Linked DNA regions of Homo sapiens: region 1 is linked to region 2. The links are contacts of gene promoters, found by promoter capture Hi-C in blood cells and fetal thymus (Javierre and others, 2016). All regions are on one chromosome and are shown on one strand. Each heading gives the region's core, a stretch centred on a gene start or on the middle of the fragment in contact. The rest is flanking DNA. Distances are from core to core; before and after follow the strand shown. Region 1 overlaps CAGE1 (cancer antigen 1). Region 2 holds the start of SLC35B3 (solute carrier family 35 member B3).

What was found. Contacts are between HindIII fragments. The CHiCAGO score rates a contact against its expected background, and 5 or more counts as called.
Region 1: a contact is called between a fragment that was not itself captured here and the fragment with the promoter of SLC35B3 in region 2, in 1 of 17 cell types (total CD8 T cells). The highest score is 5.5, in total CD8 T cells.

What each region holds. Positions count from the first base shown.
Region 1 is chr6:7,383,107-7,388,390 of GRCh38, reverse strand. It overlaps CAGE1 (cancer antigen 1), which reads left to right. Exons shown (of 14, transcript NM_001170692.2): 2 at 1,195-1,412; 3 at 2,519-2,606. The coding sequence starts at 1,218. Among named protein-coding and RNA genes, the nearest start is that of CAGE1, 4.0 kb to the left of the region's middle. The HindIII fragment of the contact is 2,387 bases long and covers 88-2,474 here.
Region 2 is chr6:8,432,038-8,437,968 of GRCh38, reverse strand. It overlaps SLC35B3 (solute carrier family 35 member B3), which reads left to right and starts at 2,424. Exons shown (of 10, transcript NM_001370479.2): 1 at 2,424-2,626. LOC100506207 (a long non-coding RNA gene) reads right to left here and starts at 2,346. Exons shown (of 5, transcript NR_038980.1): 1 at 1,791-2,346; 2 at 1-29. RefSeq lists enhancers at 2,027-2,116, 2,197-2,276, 2,217-2,386, 2,587-2,646, 2,143-2,684 and 2 more. The HindIII fragment of the contact is 10,856 bases long and covers 1,780-5,931 here.

The DNA of each region.
Region 1 (5,284 bases), core at 32-2,531, 1.0 Mb after region 2:
GACATTGTAGGAATTTTGAAAATAGATGAATGGGTAGATGGGAAGGTTTTAGGAGAGAAGCACGTGCCAGGGCAGATGACTGAAGCTTAATTCGTAAGGAACATTATCTGTCTGCAGGGAAATGAGCCTGATCTGAGTAGAGCAGGGGAGTACCGGGTAGGGGATGTCACTCCAGGCTATGGATGGCCTGGAAGGACAAAAATTTATAGAATCAATGTGAGTGGCCATCCTTTCCACTCTCAGCTCTGGAGCTCTGGACAGGCCTGAGGAAGTCAGGAGAATATGGACCAGTGTGGCAACATGGGATGGAAAGAAAGCACAGGTTACTGAAAGACTTTTTTTTTTTTTTTTTTTTTTTGAGATGGAGTCTTGCTCTGTCACCCAGGCTGGAGTGCAGTGGGCCATCTCGGCTCACTGCAAGCTCTGCCTCCGGGGTTCACGCCATTCTCCTCCCTCAGCCTCCAGAGTAGCTGGGACTACAGGCACACGCCACCGCGCCCAGCTAATTTTTTTTTTTTTTTTTTTTTGTATTTTTAGTAGAGATGGGGTTTCACCGTGTTAGCCAGGATGATCTCGATCTCCTGACCTCGTGATCCGCCCGCGTCGGCCTCCCAAAGTGCTGGGATTACAGGCGTGAGCCACCGCGCTCGGCCCTGAAAGACATTTTTAAAGGAGACATGGACGGGACTTGGTATCTGAATAGCCATGCATGATGAGGTAGAGGGATGCCAAGACAAGTCCAGTTTTCAAACACATGTACCTGAGGGAATAGGCGCAGTATAGGAAAGTGAGGAGGGAAAACAGTTACAATGCTGGGTTTGACTTGGTAGTGAGGTGTTCAAGTGGAAGGTATCAAGTAAATAAAAATCCAGGATTTTGTGGAAACTATTAGGTCTCTGATAATATTTTGTAAATATCCTTGATTAAATAACACAGAGATCCCTTCACTTCTAGGTCCAAAGCCTTCTAGGGAGTTATTGGATAGTAGCCAATACTGTTTGTTTTTCTCCAAATCAGTATTTACTACCATACCAAATTACGGTATACTCAGACTAAAATTTTTAATTTTTCTAATAACTTGACAAATGACATTTCAAATAAGGGCAGTGAACTTTGCTACTTTCTTAATGAGAAGAGGGATAGGGAAAAAACTTTTTGTTTATACCTACTAATAGACACATTTTTTTTTTAAAGAAGTCTTCTATTGTTCAACAGTTATGAACAAGGACTATCAAAAATTTTGGTCATCACCTTCAGATCCTGTACATTTTGAAGTGGATACTTCTCATGAAAAAGTAGAAAGCATGTCAGAATCGGATACCATGAATGTCAGCAATCTTTCTCAAGGTGTAATGCTTTCACATTCTCCAATCTGTATGGAAACCACCGGCACCACTTGTGACTTGCCTCAGGTGTGCATTGCTTATAAGTTCCAGGAGGCTCAGATGTATTCAGAATTCACATTGTCTTCCATATGAAAATTTCTTCAAAACTATAAGGAACAATAAAACAATATTCGGTGGACACATAAAGGAGGGGAATACAGGGTCTGGTTTTCCCAGTTTCGCTAGCGTAAGATACATTTTGACCAGCCTGGGCAACATGGTGAGACCCCATCTCTGCTAAAAATATAAAAATTAGCCAGGCATGGAAGCGAGCACCTGTAATCCCAGCTACTCTGGAGGCTGAGACAGGAGAATCACTTGAACCTGGGAGGTAGAGGTTACAGGGAGCCAAGATCGCGCCACTGCACTCCAGCCTATGCGAGAGAGCAAGGTACATTTTTACACACAGTGTTAAAACTGATCCTTTCTAGCCAGGAGTGCAGCCAGGGGACGTGACCAATTCAGTCAGAGGCAGGACAAGAGCCCAAGGAACCTGACTTCTAGTCTAATGCATCTTCCACTTACATCAGTATGCAAATGATTCAGTTGTCATTCATAATGACATTGACAGCACCCTGCATATAAATGACAACTTTCCTGTCTTCATGAAAATGCCTAGCTCCCTTTATTAAAAAATAAAAGATTGTAATGTCCCAATATCTTCATGAGTGTTGTGCTAAACGTTTGATAGTCAGTGACATCTGATTCCACTAAATAGGAATTTATAAAAATACATCAAAGATATATGCCTGTTTTATATATCTTCAGTGTTAAAAGACTGAAATAACCATCTTAATGCTGTTTAGACTAGATTTAATAAACATCAAATAATTATCAATACATAAATATGCTATCACGTATCCCTAAGTTTATAGTCACATGATTTGACTTACCAAAAAACCAAAATATTAAAATAACAAGCTATTTGTTACATTGTTGTTTAATATTGGGACTCTGTTAGCATAGTTTTACTAAAAGGGAGCCAAATACATGCTGGGGAAAGATACTAGAAAGCACATTCTACCTATGTAATGAAATATTCTAATAGCAGAATTATGTAACAATGTGCAAATACCTTTAGAAGAAGCTTGTGATGTTTGCTTGAAGTATTGATGCCTTTTTTATTAATACAGAACGAAATAAAGAATTTTGAAAGGGAAAATGAGTATGAATCCACACTTTGTGAAGATGCTTATGGCACACTAGACAATTTGTTAAATGGTAAGTATCTACTTGTTAGCAATATGCAAAAGAGAGAAACTTTTTTTTGTGTTCCGTGATAGTAACAATAGCCAGGTTTTGTGCTAAGCACTTTATATACATCATCACACTTAATCCACAAAAAAATCTTATTGAAATAAGAATTTTAAAAAATTGAAGTAAGGGCTGTTTTTATCTTCATTTTACAGATAAGGAAAATAAGGCTCAGAGAGTAACTTGCCCAGGATTGTGTAGCTTTAAATGAATGAGCCGTGATCAAGTCTCAGACTCAGACACAAAAATTTTCTACTATACAAGTATCCTTAAATGTGTATTGAGGTTGGGTGTGGTGGATCATATCTATAATACCAGTGCTTTGGAAGGCCAAGGCAGGAGGATTGCTTGAGCCAGGAAGTCCAAGGCTGTTATGAGCTATGATCATGTCACTGCACTCCAGTGGGCAACAGAAGGAGAACCTGTCTCTTAAAAAAAAAAAGCGGGGGCCAGGCACGGTGGCTCACGCCTGTAATCCCAGCACTTTGGGAGGCTGAGGCAAGTGGATCACCTGAGGTCGGGAGTTCAAGACCAGCCTGACCAACATGGAGAAACCCCGTCTCCAGTAAAAATACAAAATTAGCTGAGTGTGGTGGTGCATGCCTGTAATCCCAGCTACTTGGGAGGCTTAGGCAGGAGACTCCCTTGAACCCAGGAGGTGGAGGTTGCTGTGAGCCGAGATTGCACCATTGCGCTCCAGCCTGGGCAACAAGAGCGAAACTCCATCTCAAAAAAAACCAAAACAAACAAAAAACACCAGGTACAGTGGCTCACACCTGTAATCCCAGCTCTTTGGGAGGCCAAGGCAGAAGGATTGCTTGAGTCCACTAGTTTGAAATCAGATTGGGCAATAGGACGAAACCCCGTCTCTACTAAAAATACAAAAAATTAGCCAGGCATCGTGGTCCATTTTGGAGGCCTGGGTGGGAGAATTACCTGAGCGCGGGAGGCTGAGACTGCAGTGAGCCGAGATCACGCCACTGCACTGCAGCATGGGCAACCATAGTGAGACCTTGTCTCAAAAAAAAAAAAGAGAGCTGTGTGTTGATTTAACCCCAAATCTGTTATTCTAATCCTAAATTGACAGATGAAAGCTATTTAGGATTTAATCATATAATGAGATACATTGATCATGTTTTTGGTTTTGTTTTTGAAATGGATCTCACTATGCTGCCCAGGCTGGTCTCAAATTCCTGGGCTCAAGTGAGTCTCCTGCCTCGGTGTCCCAAAGTGTTGGGATTACAGGTATCAGCCACCACACCGGGCCCTACACTGATCATGTTTATTAAAGTAAATCTAAATGCTGTATACAAATGTCTTTATTTTTAATACTTGCAAATAATACTAAAATGAAAAGATTTGACAAGGCTTATTGAAATTATGGAATTTAATACATGCAGGTGTAAGAAAAATAAGCGCTGCCGAGGCAGGCGGATCACGAGGTCAGGAGATCGAGACCATCCTGGCTAACATGGTGAAACCCCGTGTCTACTAAAAATACAAAAAATTAGCCGGGCATGATGGTGGGCGCCTGTAGTCCCAGCTACTCAGGAGGCTGAGGCAGGAGAATGGCATGAACCCAGGGGGTGGAGCTTGCAGTGAGCCGAGATGGTGCCACTGCACTCCAGCCTGGGCGACAATAAGTGCTATAAGGATTAGAAAGGAAGAGAAGTAATTATCATTATTTGCAAATATGTACTTTTCTACATAGAAAAGTCATAAGCACCTACAGATGAGCTATTAAAACTAATAAGAAAGTTTAGAAGAAAGCTAGATATAAAATTAATATTAAAAAACCAATAGCATTCAATGCACTAGCAACAACAAATGTAAAACAGTAATTCTTAAAAACTTACTATTATCAGTAACAGCACAAACTAAGGTACCTAAGAATAAATCTAACAAAAAGTGTAAGTTTCCATTAAAAAACATTATAAAACTTTCCTGGAGGCCATAAAAAATAATTAAATGTTTCATGTTCAGATTGTAAAGATGTCAGTTTTCCTGAAGTCTATTGATTAATGCAATTTCATGTATCCTACCTTAATCCTAACATCCCCATTCAGAAGTGAAAAAGTTAAAAAAAATACCCAATACAATTTTGAAAAAGAAGATGTGGAGACTTACCCTGCTAGATAACAAGAGTTATTAGTTATAGTAATTATAACAATGTATTATAGGCAGAAGGGTAACAAACCAGTGGGATAAATAAAAGACAAAGTCCAAAAGTAGACCCATTTATATATGAGGACACCTGGTATTTGATAGAGGTGTCATTATAAACCAGTGGGGGTGTTCATTTGGTTGTGCTGGAACAGTTGGCTCTCTCAATGCAGAAAATGATTAGAACCTTACCTCACACCAAATACAAAATAAAGTCCACATGGGTAAAGGCCTACATGTGAACTGCAAAGTTCTAACTTATAAAAGAAGTGTAGAAAATGCTGTATTAGTCTGTTTTCACACTGCCATAAAGAACTACCTGAGACTGGATAATTTATAAAGAAAAGAGGTTTAATTGGATCACAGTTCCACATGACTGGGAAGGCCTCGAAACAGAATCACGGCACAAGACAAACAGGAAGCAAGGCATGTCTTAAATGACGACAGGAGGGGCAGGGGAACTGCCAAACACTTTGAAACCA
Region 2 (5,931 bases), core at 1,175-3,674:
AAGAACCTCAGGGAAGAAAGCAAAGAGGCCTGGTAAATGTGGGAGAGGAGAAGCTGTCAGGGAGAAGAATGTGTAAGATTGCATGAAACTGCCCCCCACAACCAAGTCAGAAATGAGAGGTGATGCTCAGAAGATGTGAATCAAGACACCAAAGGTTTCTGATACTACAGAATTATTAATTTCTTAAAAATTTAAAACCAATTCATAGGACCAGGCGCAGTGGCTCACGCTTATAATCCTAGCACTTTGGGAGGCTGAGGTGGGTGGATCACTTGGGGTCAGGAGTTCGAGACCAGCCTGGTCAATAAGGTGAAACCCCATCTCTACTAAAAATACAAAAATTAGCCGGGCATGGTGACAGGCGCCTATAATCCCAGCTACTCGGGAGGCTGAGACAGGAGAATGGCTTGAACCCAGGAGGCAGAGGTTGCAGTGAGCTGAGATGTGCCACTGCACTCCAGCCTGAGCGACAGAGTGAGCCTCTGCCTCAATCAGTCAATCAGTCAATAAAAAACAATTCATAGCTGCAAGTCTTTAATTTTGTTTACCACGTGGTTATCACAGGAGTAAATGGGAAGTATTGTAAGAGAGTCGATATTTATTAAACACCTACTCTATAATAAGTACTACTCCAGATAGTCTCTCCTACATTTCACATTTGACATGTAAAAATATTTCACTGACATGGTAGTCAGAGAAGAGCCAGGTGACATTTGAGCAGTGACTGGAAAAAAATGAGGAAGCAAGCTCTGTGGACATCTGAGAGGGCAGTGTTCCATGCAGAAGGAACAACAGCTACAAAGCACTGATGCTTGCTGTGCTTGGGGGCAATTAGAAAAGCTCTGAAGTGTAGCTTGGATGTGATCCATCAAGAATAAGTTCAGTCTTAAAAGTCAGGGTAAGAATTTTGAACTTTAATCTGAGTAAAATGGTAAACCGCTAAAAGGTTCTGCACAGAGGAGTGGCATATTCAGGTTCTAATGGGATCACTCCAGCTGCTGAATGCAACTATGTAGAGAAATAAAGGGAATGCAGAAAGCTATGCTCACGGCTACTGCAATTGTCCAGGCATGAGCAGATGGTACCTTGTAACACCTCTTGTACCTTAAGTTGTTTTATACTGCCATTTACTTTCTCATGGAAACCCCTAATTTCTTCAGGACAGGGAGCTCATACGCATAGTTTACGATATGAGCTATACATATGCCCATTTAATAAATACTTGATAAATAACCACCATATAAATGGCTAACAGTAGTACTAAATTCACATTATACAGTGACGATATGGCATCACTGAAAGGTTTTGTCATTTACTATCTCTTTAGGAAATTTAAGTTCTCTAAGCCTTAATTCCAACATTCCTAAGTGTTGCTAACACCAGCCTAACAACGTTGGCAAGTATTAAACGAAAATGTCTACCCAGACCTTTTTTTCTCACCACCAAAGTAGGTGCCTTGCTTTCTTACAAACCCTCGATCCCAATACAAGACACAAATGCTACCCTTTCTGAAGAGTGCCTGTAAAATTTTAAAAGTTGTCCATAACTGACTGGATTCTAACATACATATTAATCCAATTCATCCCTTTCTGGTATTCAAGGCATGCTTTCAAAAATTGTCCATCTTCGTTACAGTAATATTTTCCTTAATTATTCTCTGAAAACAGCTCATCCCCAAACCGTCTTGGTTTTTACGTTATTACATCTCAGTGGTGATGGATGAGGCCCTAAACGCGGGGAAAACCTTTTACAAAAGTTTTGATGGCTGGTCCTCAAGCTTTGAGATTTACCTTCCAAGAATTAAGCAGCACTATCGAAACAATGCTGGCAACATTTTTATGAGGTTGCAAGGACCACGGTTGCTGCAGCTACAGGATGAGTTATAACGTCAGAAGCAACCCAAGCGTTACTTCAGGCCCATCTTCACCGGAGAAGCCCGTATGAATCAGGCAAAAACATAAAAACAGGTTCTGTGACTTTGCCGTATCTCATTTAGATCAAGTAGCACGCAGAAGGAAGACAAGGATTTTAAAATCTGGCTCCAACATTCTCCACTTGGTCGCGTTCTCAAATCTCAGCCCAGGGCCGCTGACGTAAAGTCGCCTCTCTCGTGGGCACCACGGGCTCGAGGGTAGCCGGCAGCTGAAACCCGAGGGGCTTCAGAGGCTTGGAGGCCAGGAGCAGGCAGAGCGCCGATGGGATAATGAGATTCTCCAGCAGATCGGCGCTCACCGACCTACTCCATTTCAGTGGGTAGAGGTAAAGGCTGAAAGGCGACCCTCGCACCGCCCGGCCCACCTAGGCAGTGCCGGCCTAGCGTCTCTACCCCATAGAGCATGCGCGGGAGGTAACGGCCCGCCCGCCACCGGCCACACAGGCCTGTCGGGAGGCGGGGCCACGCGTCTGCGCACGCGCGCAGGGACACATAGGCGGAAGTGGCCTGCGGGCGCCGGAGTTGAGAGTGCTTTCCGGGGAGGCGACCGCCGCGGTGGAAAGTGCAGGAGTGGGCGAGGAGGAGGAGGAAGAGGAGGTGATGGCGACGGACCAGGGGAGGGGGAGATGCTCCGTCTAGCTCAGACGCCACGCAGGCTGCCGTCACCCTTCCGGGTGACATACCGGCCTTGGGGTACGCGTGCCTTCGGGGCCTTTCCTGTGTTTGGGACCCAGATCTCCTCTCCTCCAGAAAACCTTGACACTGCCCATCTTCCTCATCCAGAAGGAGCGTTCGAGGAATGGATGAGGTCGGGATGGAAGAAACGGGTGATTCCCTTTTTTGAAAGAGCGGAAACCGGCCGGGCGGTTTCCAGGGAGGAGCATCTGTTCCTCCTCGCCCGTTTTTCGCCCTCGGGCTGGCGAGAACTCCCTCAGGTCCCAATCCGTGGACTCGCAGGGGTGAGGTGACCTCAAGGGGTCTTTTACGCTGTTCTCGGGGTCTCTGGAGAACTGTCAGTCACCTGGATACCTCTAGACTGTATTTACAGTTAACTGTTTCCTCGTTCCGTGTTTATTAAATAGGGGCACTCCAAGGTACTCTTTTCTCCATTTGGCTTGCAGTAGAATGTGATTGTTCTGGCTGGGCTATTAAGTTTATGGCATAAACTTCCACTAGAAGTTCTGCAAGTTTCCTCCAGTCTTTGCAACTGAATTATCTCTCCCGTCTTTTTATTATTTAAGGAATATTGAAAGTAAAAGATGGAATGATTTGGTGCGCTAACAAAATCTTAAGTGTTGAGTATCTGCATTTTTTCTACATTAGGATATCAGAAGCCTAGAATTGTTTTTTGATTAAACGTTTTTCTAAGTGAATTGAGATAGTTTGGAACTTGGAAGAGAGGCAGCATTTCAAAATAATTTAGACAGCGTTATTTTTACTTAATTACTTAATATATAAAGTCCTAGTGTTAACTTTTTCTCTTGGAAAAAAAAAAGAATAGTCTTCAAACATTAGCACAGGGTTTCTCCACCTTTGTGTAATGATGTGTGTACAAAGAAATGAGATGGAACTTTGTTTTTTCTGTTTTATAATCGTACACCATAGGCCATGATTGATTCCGGAGCGCAGTTAATCAAGGCATAATGGCATGGTAAGATTCTTTTATTTGTAACGTTGAGTGTGGCAAAGTATAGTTAAAATCACGTTTTTTCAGGTTAATGACACCGTAATGACTTTTTTTTCATATTCTACCTTTTTTTGGTGTGGGACTTTTGTCCTTCAGGTCGGAAAACTCAAAAATAAACTGAAATAATTGTGACTTCAATAGGTCATTGTAACTCAACATTATCACTAATTTTAATTTTTAAATATACATTGTATGCCGGAAATGCTACCTTTTTATTCCATTTTAGCAGTTGAAGTTGAATATCTGTGTTGAATTTAGGAAGAGGCCTCAGGCAATTATACACACCTGTGATTTTTAAAATATATATATATATATTTTAGTTTCACTGATTACTGTGAGCTTCAAAAGCAAAGCACAATGTTGATCATTTAGTCTGAAAACTAATTTTAATTCCATGCTTCATTTTTGCTCCTTGCATCACAAGGAGTTTGGCCCATTTTTTTTTTTAGATGATGGTTAGTATCAGTCATTAATGTTTGAAGTGGAAGGGATATGGCAGACATTCCCCAATGATCACAGTTATTAGGTATCAGAGGTCTTTATCAGTCACACTTTCTCACCAGTGATGTTCTTATTAATAAAACAGCATTCTAAATGCAAGGCTTTGGTGGGCAAGTTTTATGAGACTGATGCCTCAGGCAGAGGAAACAAATTTATTTTCATGTTCATTTCAAATGTTTTGTGGGGAGTTTCAGTAGCAATGTCGGTATTTTGGCATACATGTAGAAAAGACAGTGCTAGAGAGATTTCATTCTGCACATATGGCCTAGATCTGCAGCACATAAAGTTGCCAAGAAGTGTATTAGAAGTGGTAAAGTGTTGGAAAGGAGCTGAATAACGTTGATTAAATAAATGGTGCTTGCTAAACTGTGGTAGAGTCCTTCATTTAATCTTACATTTTTGTTATGTGCCAGAACATCATAGGAAGATATCTCTTGCCTTAAGGATTTCATAGGCTTTTAGGAGAAACAAGTATAAAAACGAAAAAGCTATACCATTATCATTTAGGAATTTGAAAAATATGTATAATATGATTGAGTCCAGGACATCAACTCGTTTTTAACTTCGAGGCCTTATTCATGGATGCAGCATGATCAGACTTCACGTTGAGCCATGTGACAGATGGGTCAGAAAGGGAAGAATTGATTATAAACAGTCTCGTAATCTAGGCAAGAGAAAATGGCTGCCTGATGGAGTAGGGTCCGAAACAGATATTAGATATAGTTATAGAGGTAGAGTTAACAGGAATCTTGGCAAAATATAGAATGTGAGGAAAAGGAAAGATTCTTAAGATGACTCCCAGATTTTTAGCTTGTGTTTCATACTAGGTACTGTTAAGTGAGATTGGGAATATAGGAACAAACAGTAGATTTGTTTTGAGGGGAAAATAATCAGCTTTGGCCATTTTAAATATGAAGTGCCAGCAGAGCTTATGAGTAGAGGTATCAAAGAAGCATTTAGACGTAGAGCTCTGGATCTCAGGAGAGAAGGCAGCGTTGGAAATTCAGGTCTGTATTTCCAGCTGCACATCAAAGGGGTGAGTCAGCTTGAGCACACCATATCACCCTAGCAATATTTCTAAAAAGTTGAAGGATGACAGCTAACACACTTATGGACTGTCATATGCCAGGCAATTTTACATTTATTTCATATAGTCCTAACCAAAATCCTGTGATAGGCACATTTTTAACTCCTCCCACTTTTGAAGGTGCAGAACCTAAAGCTCAGAAAAGTTAAACGATTTGCCCAAGGCTCCTCAGCTAATAAGTAGTAAAGCCAGATCTTGAACTCATATCTGTCAAAATTCCAAAGCATGGGGAAAGCATTATGCTATACTGCTTTCTTATACTATTACCTATAATTGTATTGAGTCATTACAATATGCTTGGCAGTTTACTAAATTACAAACATCTCAGAAGAAGGTGACTTTGGGAAAGCGTGACCTTCTGGAGAAATGTTTTGATGCCAATAAAAGCAGGAAAGAAAGATATTTTCTAGAAGTTTTATTTATTCTGTATGTATGTGTAAATATGTAAGCATTATTTGTAAATTTTCCCCACTCTTTTTCTATAAGATTTTCAGTTTTGCTCATAAAGTTTGCCAGTACCACCATCCATTTCAAAAATCGTATCCAAGCAGAAGGTGAGTGATTGCAAGCTGAAGTTTGAGGGTATCAAGAGGAAGGATCAGTTTATTTGGTTCATCTGAATATCAGGTCAGAGTATATGCCAGGTACCAAGGACACAGAGACAAATAAGATTTGAATCTTGCCTTTCAAGTTCTCTTTTCTAATAACTGGGGGGATTAGTGA